3 separate regions of the Homo sapiens genome follow, and regions 2 and 3 are each linked to region 1. The links are contacts of gene promoters, found by promoter capture Hi-C in blood cells and fetal thymus (Javierre and others, 2016). All regions are on one chromosome and are shown on one strand. The core of a region is centred on a gene start or on the middle of the fragment in contact, and the rest is flanking DNA. Distances in the headings are between cores, read along the strand shown. Region 1 holds the start of AP3B1 (adaptor related protein complex 3 subunit beta 1). Region 2 has its middle 5.2 kb from the start of AGGF1. Region 3 holds the start of S100Z (S100 calcium binding protein Z).

Region 1 (3,377 bases), core at 77-2,576:
CAGTTACCTTACTTTTAAACTTTTCTAACCTTGGGAAAAAGGAAAAGATTGTATCTTACATGCTATATATATGATTTTGATCCTCAATACAGCCAAAATGTAATCCCAATTTGAAGTAGTAGCACTTTCTAGACTACCCAATATTGTTAGTAACGTTTAATTTAAATTTTAATTATACCCTCTAACAGATCTGCAAAGCTACTAGCACAGCTATTCTACCTTAATTTAGCATGAATTTAGTGACAGACTATTATGTGACCCTATTGCTTAGTAATGAAAGATTTAAAATAAGAGAAATGTAAAAATGATAATTCTGGTAAATGTAACCACTACCACCAACCCACCCCCCAAAACAAACAACTTGGGATTTCTTTCCATTTCTCGGTGATACTTTTTACAAAACTAAGTGTACCTTGTTTAACATTCGTTTTTAAAATTCACATTATTAATCTGTAAAAGTTTTGGATTTGTTCACAGTAACACTCTTTTAAAATATTTTCTATTCATATGCTTATTTTGGATTGGTGTTTTTGTCTGTAGTGCAAAGGACATAATCCAAGAACATTAATACTGGTGTAAACCAGTTTGTCCATTCAAACAGCCTAAATCCACCTCTCTGCTCCTACACTCCGGGGTCACAAAATAACTTCCCACAAGCAACACTCGCACTCTCACCTTCACCAAAACACTCCTTTCACCCTAATCAGGGAATGTATTAAAGTCTGATCCGGCGAACGGTAAATAAACTAGAAGACGATGCTCAAAATTCAGACTCCTGAGCCCAGCCCAAGTCCAATTCAATCAGTGTCTTCAGGGGTGGGATCTAAGCTCACCAAGTGGTTTCCTTTTCACTAAAGTTTGAAAACTACTAGAGACCCCTACACACATTCGCCCCAAACTCCCACAACTCCCACCACCGCCAACCAACCCCACCTACCCACCCGCGGGACACGTTACCGCCCTGCCCTGCTCAGACCTCAGGGCGACCCCGCTCCTCTCCAGGAAGCCCACCCTGGCGCCCACTCCTCCGAGTCCGCAGCTCCTCCCTCCCATCCCCGCAACCCAAACCTTTCTCCTCACTTCTTCAAATCGCTGCTAAAGAGGCCGAAGGCCCCCGAGGGGGAAATGGTTGAGGTCGCCTCCTGACCCAGCTCCGTCGCCTCCCCTCCTCCGGACTGCTCATTGTAAGGAAAACTATTGCTGGACATTGCCGCGGTGCTGGCGGGTGCGGGGTTGGTCCTGCCGGGGGTTCTCTCCAAAAGGTTCCAGTCCAGAGGGCACGGAACAAAACTAGTTCTCGTACGGAGGAGCGCGCGCAGGCGCTTCCGGACTCGTCACGGCTCCCTGAGCCGACCTGGCAGTCCACCCCCTGCGCATGCGCAGTGTGCAGGCCTGCTAGATTACCACCCGGGCCATCCAGGCCTGCGCGGACTTTCCTGCTCCGGGCTTTAGAGGTAGCTGAGCGGCTGCGAGCCGGACTGCGGAAGGGGAGGCAGCGGGTGGCTAACTGCCCGGCTCCCGGCCCGTTTGAGGTGTGTCTTTGGAGAAGGATACCCATTGCATCCGTTTTGATCCGTTAAGGAGTTTCCAGAGCCCGGACAGCTCTTTGCTATACTTCAGTAAAGCAATAGTTTTCAGATTTCTCCGGAAATGCCATTTAGCACGCCAGATCACCTTTCCTAAACCCATCACGATCGCTTTTCCTTTTCTTGCTTGTTTCGGCTACTCTCTTCCATCCGGCTTTGCCTTACTTTCATATCGGTCCCAAACAACTTTTCTCCTAGACTTTAAGGAGGCCTCTCCCAACGATGGTTTGGAGGATCCGCACAGAAGCGACCATTCCATCTTTTCAATGAAAGTCTTGGGGGCAGACCGGGCGCGGTGGCTCACGCCAGTAATTCCAGCACTTTGGGAGGCCGAGGCGGGTGGATCACTTGAGGCCAGGAGTTCGAGACCAGCCTAGGCAACATAGCGAGACCCTTTCTCTGCAAAAAATATAAAAATTAGCCGGCGTGGTGGCGCGTGTCTGTGGTCCCAGCTACTGAGGCTGAGGTGGGAGGATCACTCGAACCCAGAAGGAGGGGGTAGCGATGAGTTGAGATCTCTCCACTGCATTCCAGCCTGGGCGACAGAGCGAGACCCTGTCTCAAAAAAATGAAAAAGAAAAGAAAACATCTTGGGGCCACCAGTTCCCGTTTGGAGCTGAAGTGGTGCGTCCTATTGGCGTCTAGCTACCAAAAATAAAATGGACCACCTCGCGCGCCAGTCGTGTTACTCACTAATATGCACTAGGGAGCCTAGGCGGGATGCTTGCCTGGCCCCAGAGTAGCTCTCTCCGGGTGCTGGCACCCGAGAAAACCTCTTTCCCGGGGTGCCTTCCCCCAGCCCGCCTTCTCAGGTGGGTTTCAGCGCCTTCCCTCTCTTCTCCCCAGTGCCTCCCGTCCAAGGAAGGCATTAACACCCAAAGCCCTGGCGGCCAGGTACTGAAACTGTCAAGGGATTCTACCAGGTAGAACGCGAACCTGGAGGCCGGCCGCCCCAGGGAAGGCGGTGGGGCGTTTTCAAGGATGAGAGTATGATCTCCAAATTTCAAAAGGTCACACTGTCACTGTGGAAGCACGCAAGAGCGTGGCTCTGGGTGGGAGAGGAAGGGACGTCCTCCAAACTTGATCGTCTGGTCAAATATTGGCAGGTTTTTAATTCAGCTGTTAGAATACTCCTCCGGAGAGCCAATGATGAGCACCTAAAATGTGTTATTTGTCAGTATTAATTAATAGAATTTCACCTACAACTGACTATTGATGATGAGGATGAGGATGATCATAGATAACTATATATTATTATATAATCCTTAATATATACCAGGATATAAGTAGTTTTATATATATTAAAACTTCTAAGTAGTTTTATATATATAAATAGTTAAAGTAGTTAACTTTTAATATAAAAAAATTTATTTTAAGTTAAAATAAATACTTTTAAGTTAAAATAGTTAACTTTTAATATATATTAAAAGTTCTAAGTAGTTTTATATATATTAATAGTAAAAAGAGCTAGGCTTTGATTACTTTATTTGTAAAATGAGAACATTGATATACACATAGCCTGGAAAATCTCGGACACATACCTGATTACAGAATTTCTTGGTTTTAGAGCATGTACACTTTTACCAGATATCCTAAATTTTTTTCCAGCATACTTTTAGCAGTGGATAATCTTCTTTCTTCACATTCTCACAAACGTTTAGCTTTCTAAAAATGTTTAATTGTCATCAATATGATACAAATGAATATTATTTGTATTGTAATTAATTTTCATTCTCATGGCCATAATGAACTTGAGAATATTTTATGTGATTGTTACTCCATTTGCATTTT
Region 2 (3,879 bases), core at 1,199-3,698, 1.3 Mb before region 1:
TGCTGTAGGATACCTGAAAGGCACCAGCAAGCAACGAACAACCTCAGAAGAATTTAACAATGATTGCTGATTTTTGTATTTGGTATCCAATTTTAACACTAAAAAATTCCTGTTGGAATGGGCCAGTTGCATTCAAAAAAGCACAGTTCAAATAGCCAAAAAAACTTTTTAAAATAAAAAATCCAAACTGACTTGGCATTTCTTGAGAACTATTAAAAGGGCATCATTTCGCACTGCCCAGTAACCCTTCTTACATCCCTTATTCTCTCCTCTCCCATTCACTCACGCATTTTGTTGTATCTTACAAAAATATTAATCCATAATGAACTAGAATTTTTAAAAACATCCTCACCACAAAGAGTTTAAGTACTGCTCTAGTATGAACCATTGATTTTGCCTTCTAAAGACCTAGAATTGGTCCAGTGGGACAGACTGTCCTTTGAGAGTTCGAATTCTTATTATTAAGGGAGAGTAGAAGGGAGGAGGACTTGGGAAGATTCGTAACACAGCAATGTTTTAACTCATTATACCATCATAAAAGGAAGGTACAAAATGTAAGAATTTTAGCTGGGGGTGGAGAATAGTGTCTTACTTAGCTTCCTCGGGCTTCCTTTACCATCACTCCAGTGTTTTAATGTTATATCCCCCCATTTTTTTCTTGGGCCTCCAGGGGAGGAAACGGGTAATGGTCAATTGACCAAAAGTAACATGGGGCAATAAATCAGAACTATTGAAATGCTATGGTTCCCCCAGATATTCTCCTGTGGCATCAAAAAGTTGAATCAGGTAAGGAAAAGTTGGCTACCCACCATATCCAATATAAATTATGACAGGTGGATATTAATTAAATATAAATTGATGACACTCTAAAAGAAATTGGACATAAATCAGCTTTTATTGAATTGACAATATTCTTCTGTTGTGGAATATTATAATATCTCAGGCATTTGAACTCCAGCCTGATTCAATTCATAGGCTCCTGGAATGGCTCTAGATCAGATTGAGTATCAATTAGCTATTGCTGCATACTAAACACCCCAAACCTCAGTGGCTTTAAACAACCATCCTTCATTATTTCTCACAAGCCTAGGGGTGATGTGTGGGCTGGCTGATCACCACCACCAGGCTTGCTAATGTGTCTGAGGGTTTCCTGAAGTCTCTGCTCTAGCCTGGACTTAGCTGGAGCATCTAAGCTAGGAGAGGTCTGCTCCCTGTATTATTCATCTTTCTCCTGAGACCAGCACACATGCCTGGGTATGTTCTTCTTGTGGCAATGGCAGGAAATCCAGAGGGCAAGCAGAATCACTAAGGCCTTGGGACTTAGGCTTAGATGTGTCACTCTTCTGGCACATCACATCATTCTGCTGACCAAAGCAAATCACATGGCCAAACCAGCTCAAAGGTGAAGGGGAGATTCTTCCCTTTTAGTGAGGAAAACCACAAAATCACATGTCAAAGGATGAGGAAGAAGACCGATAAAGAACTGGGGCCATTCATGCAATTTCCAAAGTGTGATGGTTAATTTTATGTGTCAGCTTGATTGGGCCACAAGATGCTCATTTATCTCCTTCAATATTATTTCTGGTGTGTGTGTGAGGTTGTTTCCAGAAGACATTTGAATTGCCAAACTAGGTAAAGCAGATGGCCCTCCCCAATGTGGATGGGAATTCTCCAACCCACTGACGGCCTGAATAGAAGAAAAAGACAGAGTAGAGTTGAATTCTTGCTCTGCCTGACTGCTTGAGCTGGAACATTGATCTTCTCCTGCCCTTGGCACTCCTGGTTCTCAGACCTTCAGACTCGGATTGGAATCTATACCATTGGCTCCCTGGCTCTCATGCCTTCAAATGACACCACGGGCTTTCCTAGGTATCCAGCTTGCAGACAACAGATTGTGGGACTTCTCAGCCTCTATAATCACTGAGCCAATTCCTTATGATAAATCATATGACAGCCAGGCACGGTGGCTCACACCTACAATCTCAGCACTTTGGGAGGCCGAGGCAGGTGGATTACCTGAGGTCAGGAGTTTGAGACCAGCCTGACCAACATGGTGAAACCGTGTCTCTACTAAAAATACAAAATTAATTGGGTGTGGTGACAGGTGCCTGTAATCCCAGCTACTCGGGAGGCTGAGGTGGGAGAATTATTTGAACCCGGGAGGCCGAGGTTGCAGTGAGCCGAGATCACACCACTGCATTCCAGCCTGGGAGACAGAGCGAGACTCCATCTCAAAAAACAAAACAAAACAAAATAAATCATATGACACTGAAGTTACAGAAATCACTTTTCTAATTTGAATCATTTTTTTAAAACAGAGAGATTTCACATAAAAATCCTGATTGATTTTTTTTTTTCGAAAAATCAGAAGCTTTGCAACACAGGGTCCACATTCCCATATGTCTCCACAGTTCGCAGGAGCTGAGTAGCAGCTGCCCTGTCCATTCATTTGCTTTATCTCCCTAGCCCTTGGAGCCATTTGAGTTTGCTTTACACAGTAGTAGTTCTACAGCCAGATCTGTTTCTCAAGCTTCAGATAGGCTTCTGCAGTGCTCACTATTTACTGAACACCTCAAATTCAATATAATTAACAATATCGAAACTAAAGCATCCCTTCCTCCTCATGCAACATACTCTTCTCCAATAGTCCCTATCTTCCTCATCCAAGCTAGAAACCTATTCATCACTTTGACTTTTCTTTCCCTCTCTAATATACTACAGTATACAATTTTATTCACAATAAAACTACGGTGTGTCTAGGAAATAACCTAAGAAAGAATACCCAAGACCTTTCCCGAAACAAGTGTTAAAATTGTACTAAAGTCCAAGAAAAATATTAAGCAAAAATGTATGTGAATTGACTATCTAAATAAAGTTTTATGTTAATTCCCCTAAATAAATCTATACATTCAATGTAATCTTAATAAAAATCCCATTGGATTGTTTGAGGAACTCAACGAACTCATTCTAAAATTTATATGGAAAAATAGAGGTTTATGAATAAGCTGATTTTGAAAAAGAAAAACAAAATAGGGCCTTGCCCTACCAGTTAAGGCATACTAAAGAACCTAAGTGATAAAAACAGAGTGGCTCTGGCATGGGAGCAGACTAATAGACAAGTGGAAAAGAATGGCGAGCTCAGAACTAGGCCCATATATAAAGATGGGAACCTGATGGAAGATGATGGTGGTACTACAAAGCAATGCAAAGGGGATGGTCTTGAGAAAACTAGGTCATGTCTGAATACCCCCAGCTGGAATAGAGAACAAATGTGAAAGTTCAAATTATAAGATCAATAGAAGAAAATATGACTTGGGGTAAGGAAAGTCTTCATGAAACCCTACACTGTAAAGCCAAATAAAATTTTAAAAAGTAAAATAAAATAAAGACTGATTTCATGACATACAAATTAAGAACTCCTGGCTAACAAAGAACACTGGACAAAGCTAACAAATATATGACAAACTGGGAGAAGATATCTGTAATATCTAAAACTGATAAAGAAGGAATACCTTGTTTATATAAAGAACTGCAAAATAACAAGAAAGAAATGGGCAAAAAGATATGGATAGGCAATTCACAGAAAGGAAAGGACATATAGCCATTTCAACATATATACATTTCAACAAATGTATGAGATTCTCTAGTAATCAGAGGAGTATCAATTAAAACAGCAAGGAAATAGCTCATTATATTCATAATGGCAAAAAGTACAAAAAATGGTTCATATCATTTATTGGAGAGGATGTGGGAAAAAAACATTACAAAACAAAATCAAATCGTGAAGGGTGTCAAGTAGAATGCTTTTTTAGGGCAGCGCCTCTGCCCACTATGCTAAGTACCTCTTAGATCTGAAAACTAGGTGTGGCAAAGACTGCT
Region 3 (3,378 bases), core at 682-3,181, 1.4 Mb before region 1:
GCCCAGCTAATTTTTAAAAAAAAATTTGTAGAGATGGTGTCTCCCTATGTTGCCCAGGCTGTGTTGAACTCTTGGGCTCAAGTGATCCTCCCACCTCTGCCTCCCAAAGTGCTGGGATTACAGGCTTGAGGCACAGCACCCAGTCAAGAGGTTTTTGGGTTTTGTTTGTTTTTTGAGACGGAGTCTCACTCTTGCCCAGGCTGGAGTGCAGTGGAACAATCTTGGCTCACTGCAACCTCTGCCTCCCGGATTCAAACAATTCTCCTGCCTCAGCCTCCCGAGTAGCTGGGATTACAGGCGCACACCACCATACCTGGCCAAGAGTAGTTATTTTGGAAAGAGAGACGTTTCAATCTTCAGAACATATCTTTGGCCGGGTGCGGTGGCTGGTGCCTGTAATCCCAGCACTCTGGGAAGCCAGGCTGGGAGGATCACTTGAGCCCAGGAGTTCAAGACTAGACTGGGCAAGCAACATGGTGAAACCCCATCTCTACAAAAAAATACAAGTATTAGCCAGGTTGTGGTGGCATACCCTGCAGTCCTAGCTATTTGGGAGGCTGAAGTGGGAGGATCACTTGAGCCTGGGAGGTTGAGGTTGCAGAGAGCTGTGATTGTGTCTCTGTACTCTACCCTAGGCAATGGAGCAAGACTCTGTCTCCAAAAAAAAAAAAAAAAAATTTATCTTTGAATTCTTTCTTTCAATATATTGTTATCTGTATTTCTGTACTGAGTGCTGTGCTTCTTGACCTGTCTCTGCCCTTTTCTGTGTATTTATTTATTTAATTGACAAGTAAAAATTGTATATATTATGGTATACAAATACAGCTTGATGTTTTAATTTATGTATACATTGTGGAATTATTAAGTCAAGCTATTTGACTTAATTGCCCCATATACTTGTCATTTTTTGGGGGTGATAAAGACACTTAACATCTACTGTCTTAGCAATTTTCGATACACGATATATTGTTATTAACTATAGATAGCATGCTGTACAATGGGAGCTCTTAAACTTATTCCTCCTGGGCCAGGCGCAGTGTCTCACGCCTATAATCCCAGCACATTGGGAGGCCAAGGTGGGCGGATCACTTGAGGTCAGGAATTCAAGACCAGCCTCACCAACATGGTGAAACCCCATCTCTACTGAAAATACAAAAATTAGCCAGGCTTAGTGGTGGGCGCTTGTAATCTCAGCTACTTGGGAGGCTGAGGCAGAAGCTTGAACCAGGGAGGTGGAGGTTGCAGTGAGCTGAGATGATGCCACTGCACTCCAGCCTGGGTGACAGAGCAAGACTCTGTCTCAAAAAAAAAAAAGAAAAAAAGAAATGCTGTGAGGAATTATTAGCCATGAAGCTTCAGCAGGCAGGTTAGGTAGCTTTTCCAGTCACATACTGGTGAAGTAAGGATTTGAACCCCAAGACTCTGGTGCCAGAGTAATTGCTCTTCACCATGAGGAGGCACCAGTGGGGGAGTGTTGGATCACAAGCAGTTTCTTTTTCTTTTTTTTTTGTTTTTTTGAGACGGAATCTGGCTCTGTCACCTAGTCTGGAGGGCAGCGGCGAGCTCAGCTCACTACAACCTCTGCCTCTCAGGTTCAAGCGTTCTCCTGCTTCAGCCTCACGAGTAGCTGGAATTACAGGCGCCCGCCACCATGCCTGGCTAATTTTTATATTTTTAGTAGAGATGGGGTTTCGCCACGTTGACCAGGCTGGTCTCAAACTCCTGACCGCAAGTGATCCACCCACCTCAGCCTCTCAAAGTGCTGGGATTAGAGGCATGAGCCACTGCACCCAGCGCAATTTCGTTAGAGACTTGGTGCCTTCCCATTTCTTTTACTCAGCAATATACCAGCTTTAGGTCCTAAATTAAACCTCTTCCTGCTTTCCCACCTGATGAAGAAACGTGCCTGCAGTGTGGTGAGTCTGGACCACGCAGACTCAGAACAGCACTACTCACAGCAGGGCCTCTTGCTCGCTCTAGCTGCTGGGAGGAAAACGGCTTGCTAATCTCCACGCCCAGAAATTCAGACAAGAGCATTCTCCTTATCTCATCTGCACAGGAAGCAGGTCTAAGGTAAAAGATTATTTTTGTGGAAGATTCTTGCTTTTCAGTCTAGTGGTTGAAGTGTGAGCCTGGCAGGCGTTGGATTAGAGAGGGCAACAAGAGTGGAGGTTGTGAGGTGGGGGGTTGCCTTGGGGCTTCCACTCTAAAATGTGGCCTTACCTTGGCCACAAAGGGGTCGGGGGGGTGGGGGAGAGAGAGAGAGAGAGAGAGAGGGAGAGAGCAGCCTGATCATAGCTCGGAGCGTAGAGGTTCTGGTAAGTTCCTTGCCCTAAAGAACACTTAGTTCATTCTGGCTCCTTTCCTGGTGACCATCCTGGCTTCCTGCTTGGCCTTCACCTCACCTTGAGAAATTCAAGTTTCATGTTCTTGTCCAGGCCAAAGACCCAGAAGAACCTTCAAGGTGAGGCTTGGCCCCTTAGATCCACGCCGTGATTTCGCTTCTTTTTCCTGAAGCCTGCACAGATGCCAGTGTAAGCCCACTCCCAGGAAGTCACAGCAGTGGTCTATGCTCCTCCTCTTCACACTGGCCAGTGCTGGGCATGCCTGGACAATCAGCCCTGGAATGGCTGCTCTCAGCCTACAGAAGAAGAGAGGGAAGAGGGATGGAGGGGCTGGGGAGAAGTTGGTGAGAGGACACAAAATTTGGGTTAGACAGAGAAATAAAGTTTTTTTTGTTTTTTGTTTTTTTCTGAGATGGAGTTTCACTCTGTCACCCAGGCTGGAGTGCAGTGGTGTGATCTCAGCTCACTGCAACCTCCACCTCCCACTTGGCTTCCCAAAGTGCTGCGATTACAGGCATGAGCCACCGCTCCCCAGCCTCCTCATGGGATTTTTGAGGATGACATAAAGGAATACATTTAAACTGCCTAGAAGGGTGCTTGGCCCAGAGTATGTGCTAATTAACGTTGGCTACTATTATTTTCCTTCAACCCAGTGCCGGTGCAGGTCTAGAGGAAAGCATGAGGTGATACAGGGGCACCCAGAGGCGGAGTGCTCCCAGGAGCTGAGGGGCATCGGAGGCTTCCCTGGAGGACTGGCACCTGAGCAGAGGAATGGGCAGCACAGTGGCAGTGCCACGTGTGCGGCACAGATGGTGCAGAGGGGATGGGTGGGCACACTGCGGGGAGTTTAGATTTAGCCAGGGGATGGCAGGGCCTGTCCAGGAGGTTAAGTGAGGAGCTCAGGTGTGCCTCCCAGCAGGCAGGGGAGGCTAATTTTGAAGAAGAGCAAAGTAGGTGCAGGAGGTGAGTTGGGATCTCATGCAGTAATTCAGGCCAGAAGTGACAAGGGCCTGAACTATGGCGCTAGGGTTGA

Evidence for each region. The method cuts DNA at HindIII sites, captures the fragments that hold promoters and counts their contacts. A CHiCAGO score of 5 or more calls a contact.
Region 2: a fragment that was not itself captured here is called in contact with the fragment with the promoter of AP3B1 in region 1 in 1 of 17 cell types (total CD8 T cells); the score reaches 5.0 in total CD8 T cells.
Region 3: a contact is called between the fragment with the promoter of S100Z here and the fragment with the promoter of AP3B1 in region 1, in 1 of 17 cell types (non-activated CD4 T cells). The highest score is 6.5, in non-activated CD4 T cells.

What each region holds. Positions count from the first base shown.
Region 1 is chr5:78,293,372-78,296,748 of GRCh38, forward strand. AP3B1 (adaptor related protein complex 3 subunit beta 1) reads right to left here and starts at 1,327. Exons shown (of 27, transcript NM_003664.5): 1 at 1,081-1,327. The coding sequence starts at 1,208. RefSeq lists enhancers at 1,590-2,163, 2,538-2,587. The HindIII fragment of the contact is 5,219 bases long and covers 1-3,377 here.
Region 2 is chr5:77,023,303-77,027,181 of GRCh38, forward strand. No RefSeq gene overlaps it. Among named protein-coding and RNA genes, the nearest start is that of AGGF1, 5.2 kb to the right of the region's middle. The HindIII fragment of the contact is 159 bases long and covers 2,370-2,528 here.
Region 3 is chr5:76,848,083-76,851,460 of GRCh38, forward strand. It overlaps S100Z (S100 calcium binding protein Z), which reads left to right and starts at 1,932. Exons shown (of 5, transcript NM_130772.4): 1 at 1,932-2,073. The HindIII fragment of the contact is 3,987 bases long and covers 1,352-3,378 here.